Regions from separate parts of the Homo sapiens genome. Here region 1 is linked to region 2. The links are contacts of gene promoters, found by promoter capture Hi-C in human tissues and cell types (Jung and others, 2019). All regions are on one chromosome and are shown on one strand. Each heading gives the region's core, a stretch centred on a gene start or on the middle of the fragment in contact. The rest is flanking DNA. Distances are from core to core; before and after follow the strand shown.

Region 1 (3,325 bases), core at 473-2,972, 88 kb after region 2:
CAGCTCACTGCAACCTCTGCCTCCCCAGTTCAAGCGATTCTCCTGCCTCAGCCTCCTGAGTAGCTGGGATTACAGGCACGTGCCATCATGCCCAGCTAATTTTTGTATTTTTAGTAGAGACGTGGTTTCACCATGTTGGTCAGGCTGGTCCTGAACTCCTGACCTCTGGTGATCCACTCGCCCTGGCCTCCTGAAATGCTGGGATTACAGGTGGGAGCCACCGTGCCCGCCCTACATAATGTATTTTTTAAAAGCACATATATAGAATAATAAATGAAAACAAATAAAAGGTAGATACAAGTAGTGAAAACAACTCACTTCTCTTGTTGTTACATATCTTTGCTATGTATTGCCCACGCCATGTATTTTCATGTTTTGTGTTTTGGACGTTTCTAAGCACACTTATTTCTCAGTTAGGTTGAAGAGTTTAATTTCTCTTTATACACTTAATAAAGACCATTGAACAGCCAATTTGTATATCTAGTCTCTAAATGTATATTTCTGAAGATCTCCTCTCTCAAAGAGGAAAACCTTCTTTGGAAATGTCTCCAGCATAGTCCTTCTGGCAAGGTCAGTGATTTCTACCTCTTTATTTATGAACTGCTATTAATTTGATTTTGTAATATCCCTTCCTAAAAGTGTTATATTAGTATTTAAAAACTTGAACGTAGGCCAAGCGCAGTAGCTCACGCCTGTAATCCCAACACTTTGGGATGCCAAGGCAAGGTGAATTACTTGAGGTCAGGAGTTCAAGGCCAGCCTGGCCAACATGGCAAAACCCCATTTCTACTAAAAATACAAAAATTAGCCAGGCGTGGTGGCGCATGCCTGTAATCCCAGCTACTCAGGAGGCTGAGGCAGGAAAATCACTTGAACCTGGGAGGCAGCTGGAGGTTGCAGTGAGCTGAGATCCCACCACTTGACTCCAGCCTGGGTGACCGAATGAGACTCCATCTCAAAAAACAAACAAAAAAAAGAAATTGAATGTAAATATTTGCTTTGCATATTAACAGTTTAAACAATTAAGATCCTTTTGAGATAACTGGAGATACTTTAAGTTATATAAAATATATACTGTGTGTATATATATGTGTGTGTGCGTATATGTGTGTGTGTGTGTGTGTGTGTGTGTGTAAATATATATATATATATATTTTTTTTGAGACAGGGTTTGGCTCTGTTACCCAGGCTGGAATGTAGTGGTATAATCATGGCCCACTGCAGCCTCAAACTCCTGAGCCATGATTGTGTCACTGCACTCCAGCCTGGGCAACACAGCAAGATCCCATCTCAAAAAAATAAAAATAAAAGAAAAATTTAAAAACTACCTGTTATGAACTGAAATGTCTGTGTTCCCTCCAAATTCATATGGTAAAGCCCTAACCCCCAGTGTGGTCATATTTAGAGATGGGGCCTCTGAGAAAGTAATTAAGGTTAAATGAGGTCACATGGGTCCTTGATCTGATAGGATTCGTTTCCTTATAAGAAGAAATACCATAAAACTCTCTCTCCAAGTGCACGCACCAAGGAAAGGCCACATGAGTGTACAGCAAGAAGGCGGCAGAATGCAACCCAGGGGCAGAGCCCTCATCAGACACCAAAACTGCTGGCATGTTTATCTTGAACTTCCAGTTTCCAGAACCGTGAGAAAATAAATACCTGTTGTTTAAATCACCCAGTTTGGATATTCTGTTACAGAAGCATAAGCAGATTAACACAATACCTCTATTAATAAATGCTCTCTATTACTTCCCGTTTCAGAAAATGTACTTTGTTGAATTCTACATGAGAAATATTTCCTTGAACATCCAGGGAAATCAGATTCATAAAAAGTGCTTTGTATGAAATACAATTTACAATCATTTGCAGTCAAATGGCCCTGTAAAAATATGCTTACCCTTGAAGAGTAACGTACTCTTGGGAGCTTTCAGCCCAACAGCCACTCAGCATTGCAGCAAAATAACTAGATCTGGCACTCAAAATGGCCCTAAAGGGAAGAGGGGGGAGAAACACAGGTAAACATTTACATATTATTCAAAATGTAATTTTTTATGAAAATTTTCATCTTTATGTATTAAAACACAATAATCTATTTGTTTTGTTTGTATTCATAGGCAGGATTACTACATAATAAAACTTATAAGCTTATATTTATACCTAAGGGTTTTTTTTTTGTTTTTTGTTTTAAGAGACAGGATCTTCCTCTGTCACCCTGGCTGGAATGCAGTGGCGTGATCATAGCTTACTACAGCCCTGAACTCCTAGACTCACGTATGATCCTCCCACCTCAGCCTCCCAAGAAGCTAACACTACAGGCATGCAGTATCACACTCAACTTGATTTTTAAATTTTTTGTAGAAATGGGGTCTCACTATGTTGTCCAGACTGGTCTCAAACTCTAGACCTCAAGCAATCCCCCTATTCCTGAAGTGCTGGGATTTATAACTAAGCATTTTGATTGTTTAAAACATTAATTCCAATGCCCTTGCTGTCTTTTTTTTTCTTTGAAGGTTCTTTAATTTTTTAAGCTTATAAAAACATAATTGATATTTAATTTTTTAAATATAAAAAGGTAGCTAAAGACAAAGTACTGATCAGCAAACCCTAATTTAATATGGATTATTTTGGAAATTTAAAAATTTTTAACAAGGTGGCCTTCTATCTCATACTAAAGTGTAAATCAAGGCTCTTTCCCAGATTTACACTTCATACTTAGTAACAATCTAAAACCTTTTCAAATCAATGAAAAAAAAACCAAAAAACAAAAAACCTACCATGACCAATTTAAACGACCTGGGAAAGGGTAGGAGAGGTGACCAATAATCAGAGCCAGTTGCACGCAGATGGAAAAATGCTTGCTGTCACTCCCAAATATATCCCTACATTACATGTAAATCATAATGGAAATAAATGCCTACATTACAGAACTATGAAATTCTATTTAAAAAATAATAGGCCAGGCACGGTGACTCACGCCTGTCATCTCAGCACTTTGGGAGGCCGAGGCGGGTGGATCACCTGAGGTCGGGAGTTCAAGACCAGCCTGGCCAATATGATGAAACCCTGTCTGTGCTAAAAAAAAAAATACAAAAAAATGGCCGGGCGCGGTGGCTCACGCCTGTAATCCCAGCACTTTGGGAGGCTAAGGCAGGCAGATCACGAGGTCAGGAGATCGAGACCATCCTGGCTAACATGGTGAAACCCTGTCTCTACCAAAAACACAAAAAATTAGCCGGGCGTGGTGACAGGCGCCTGTTGTCCCAGCTACTCGGGAGACTAAGTCAAGAGAATGGCGTGAACCCAGGAGGCGGAGCTTGCAGTGAGC
Region 2 (3,814 bases), core at 83-2,582:
TGAGTAAATGGTGAGTTGGCTGGGGGAAGGGCTTCAACTTCTATAACCCCCCCTACACATACTTACTAATACACCCACATAGCTATGAATACATATATGCAAAGGTTACAAGAACTTTTTGGAGTAGTTACTGGTATGTATGTGGATATGTATGTTTGTGCCTATCAGTTAGTAATCCATAAATGTTCATTTAAATCTTTACACCCTTATACATAGGTTTTAAAAACAATTTAACTAAAGCTAAGAGAAGTAAAGTAATCACGTGCACAATAAGTGAGAAAGGAGTGGGGTCAGTCGTGTCCCAAGTCCCTGTTAAAGGTGAGGAATGAATCAGAAACCTGGGGCTGGGGCAGTGCCTTCTCAGCATTTCTGGGGAAAAGCTCCTCGACCAGCAGCCAAGCAAGGACTGTGTGGCTTTGGGCAAATCACGTCACCTCTGGTTAGGCTGCATCCTCACCTGAAAACAAAAAGCTTCTAAACGGGAGGTGAACGCTGAGCGTGCAGGGACAGAGGGGAGGGGCAGGCGCGGGGGACGGGACCGGGGGACCAGAAGGTGGAGGAGGGACAGTCACTAATGGGCACCTGGGGGACGACAGAATCTGGACAACAAACTCCCGTGACACGAGTTTAACCTATGTAACACACCTGCACACGGACTCCTGAACCTAACATAAAAGTTAAATTAAAAATAAAAACAAAAAGCGTGGGCCCAGTGGCCTCTTAAACCTTTGCCAGTTCCAAGGCCCTGGTATTCTGGGCTTTTGTTGCTACTGTTTTGTTTTTTCCAAGCTCTGGAGTGTTTGCAAATTTAAGTTTAACACTGCCCCATCATCTCCAGCAAGTCACTTTCCCTGCTCAGTCTCCTCACGGGTCCAGTGAGGCGCCGGCCTACAAGGATCTTCACGGTCTCTTCCATTCTTTACTTTTCGGAGTGACCAACAAAGCCTAAAGCAAATAAAATTTACACTCGCAGGTGGGTGACGGACTTCTGACAGGGAAAACCCCGAGGGAGCCCTTTCCACACCGATTCTCAAGGGGAAAATAGGGTGGGCAGGATCTCCTCCCCTCACCCGCCAAAGCCCTGAGGTAAAGCTCTGAGCTCGGCAAGTCAGAGAGCACTACGCCGGCGAAGAACGAAGAAAGAAAAACGCGAAGAGACAGGTCTGCCGAGGCCTCATCCCCAGCGCTGCAAACCCACCTGCTCACCAGGTCCTCAGAGACCGCTCAGGGTTTCCCAAACTTCCAGAACGTTCCGTGAGCAGTGAGAGGCGCCGCCGGTAGGGCAGAGCGCCCAGGGTGCCTGGGGCAGGGTTCTGCAGTCGCTGGGCTTCTGCGCAACCGCAGACCCCGCAAACCTTTTCCGCGCTTCTGGCTCCCTAGAGCGAGGTTTGCAGGAAGCCGGAAGTGGTTAAGAAGATACAAGATTTGTAGGCCTGGCGCGGTGGCTCATGCCACTAATCCCAGCACTTTGGGAGGCCGAGGTGGGCGGATCACGAGGTCAGAAGTTTGAGACCAGCGTACCAACATGGTGAAACCCCGTCTCTACTAAAAATGCAAAAATTAGCTGGGCATGGAGGCGCGCACCTGTAATCCCAGCTACTCGAGAGGCTGGGGCAGGAGAATCGCTTGAACCCAGGAGGCGGAGGTTGCAGTGAGCGAGATCGCACCACTGCACTCCAGCCTGGGTGACAGGGCAAGACTCCGTCTCAAAAAAAAAAAAAAAAAAAAAACAAGATTTTTGCGTGTTAGACTCAGTTGTCCGGAATTGATTTTCACAGTTTTCTAAAATTCAGGCTCAATTCTTAGATTTCTGTCATTTGCAACATAAAATCAAAGTGGCCTTCAGTTTATCCAAATTATGAAAAAGGTAGATTTTCATGAGCAGCTGTCAAAAGGACATACAGGGGCCTGTGTGTTTGCTTTTTAGGACCCCATTATGTTCAGACCTAATTGAAGCTCAGCAATTTATTAAGTGTCACAATCATAAAAATGTAAAAAGACAAAGACCACTACTTGCCTTGAGCCTAATGGTTAGGATACAAAACTATGTGCCTTACTTTGTAAAACAGGTATTCCTGTAGAAAGAAAGGTGCTCCAGGAAAAATCCTTTGGAGCACACTTGTGATGTGCTGTTAATTTTTCCCTGTGATAACCATTTTGTATGTTTGGCATTTTGTATAACTGATATTAAAATTAGGTGCACTCTTGCTGCCTCATTTGGGCAGTTTGTTAAGCCACCACACCTGGCCTCTTGTTTATAAATTACCTGGTCTAAGGTATTTTGTTATCGTGGCCATAATGGACTAAGACAATTCCTCCTCTCTTCAAATCTCCAGAACTTATTCCTCATCTTCATTTTCGGCTGAAGTGAAATAGTTACTGCTAATATTTCATAAAGATTTATGATTTTAATAGTATTTAGTATTTAATATTAAATACTATTCAAATGAGATAAATAAAAGCATCCAGAAACGAAGTTCCACAGATGTCCACCTACCAATCTACCAACATCTATATGCCAGATTCTGCTTTCTTTCCAACTATAGTAGGTGAACTGTATAATCCTATGTAAGGCCAGCCCTCAAATGGACAACAGAGCCCATCTCTTCTTGCTTACCCAAGAATATAGCTCCACCGGCCAGTCGCGGTGGCTCACGCCTGTAATCCCAGCCCTTTGGGAGGCTGAGGCAGGTGAATCACAAGGTCAGGAGATCAAGATCAGCCTGGCCAATATGGCAAAACCTCATCTCTACTAAAAATACAAAAAATTAGCCAGGTGTGGTGGTGCACACCTGTAGTCCCAGCTACTTGGGAGGCTGAGGCAGGAGAATTGCTTGAACCTGGGAGGCAGAGGTTGTAGTGAGCCAAGATCATGCCACTGCACTCCAGCCTGAACAACAGAGCAAAACTGTCTCAAAAAAAAAAAAATATATATATATATATATATATATATATATCCACCAATTATTTCCTGACTCTTACAATCTTCAATTTTCTCCTCTCCACTGAATAGTCTCAATAGCAAATAAATATGCCATTATTTCTCTCATCTTAAAATCTCTTAATCTCCTCTCCCACACCAGCTAACAATCCATTTCTCTGCTCTCTTTACAGAAAAACTCAAAAGGATTGTCTATAATTTCTGTTGCTAATGCCCTTTTTTCCCATTCTTTATCAAATTTATTCCAATCAGACTTTTTCATTTCCACCATACCACAGAAATTGCTCATGTCAAAGTCATTGGTAAATCCAGCAAACAGCTGTCAATACTAATTTTACTTGGTCAATCAGCAGTACTTGTTACAGTTGATCATTCCCTCCTCCTGGAAAAACTTTCTTTCCTTGGCTTCCCCATATCATGCTCTCATGGTTTCCCTCCAGCCTCACTGGCCATTTATCAGCATCCTTATTGGTTCTTCCTCAAAACCCAACCTTTTAATCTTGCTTGGAGTGCCGCAAGCTCAGTCCTTGGACCTCTTTTCTTCTCTGGGTATATTTGTTACTTTGGTGTCCTCCTTAACTCATAGTGTTAGATATCATCCATGTGCTGACAAATTCCAAATATCTATCTACAGCCCTGGCCTTTCCCCTGAACTCCAAACTGGTATAACCAATTGCTGTTTAATATTTCCAGTAATAGACATCTCAAATTTCACATGTCCAAAACTGAACTTCTGACTTCCCCTCCCAATGCTGCACCATCTATAGTCTTCCTTATCTCAATTAAAGATTACACATATTTTATTTAAATACTTTGACTGTCTTACATACCCTTTTCAGCCATCAGGAAGTCTTGTTGCCTGTACTTTCAAAA

Evidence for each region. Contacts are between HindIII fragments. The study calls those that stand out against the background at their distance.
Region 1: a fragment that was not itself captured here is called in contact with the fragment with the promoter of C1orf146 in region 2 in 3 of the 25 tissues and cell types used here (adrenal gland, dorsolateral prefrontal cortex and spleen).

Annotation. Positions count from the first base shown.
Region 1 is chr1:92,128,349-92,131,673 of GRCh38, reverse strand. BTBD8 (BTB domain containing 8) reads right to left here. Exons shown (of 18, transcript NM_001376131.1): 5 at 1,898-1,987. Among named protein-coding and RNA genes, the nearest start is that of BTBD8, 50 kb to the right of the region's middle. The HindIII fragment of the contact is 5,139 bases long and covers 1-3,325 here.
Region 2 is chr1:92,215,433-92,219,246 of GRCh38, reverse strand. C1orf146 (chromosome 1 open reading frame 146) reads right to left here and starts at 1,332. Exons shown (of 6, transcript NM_001012425.2): 1 at 1,199-1,332. The HindIII fragment of the contact is 16,370 bases long and covers 1-3,814 here.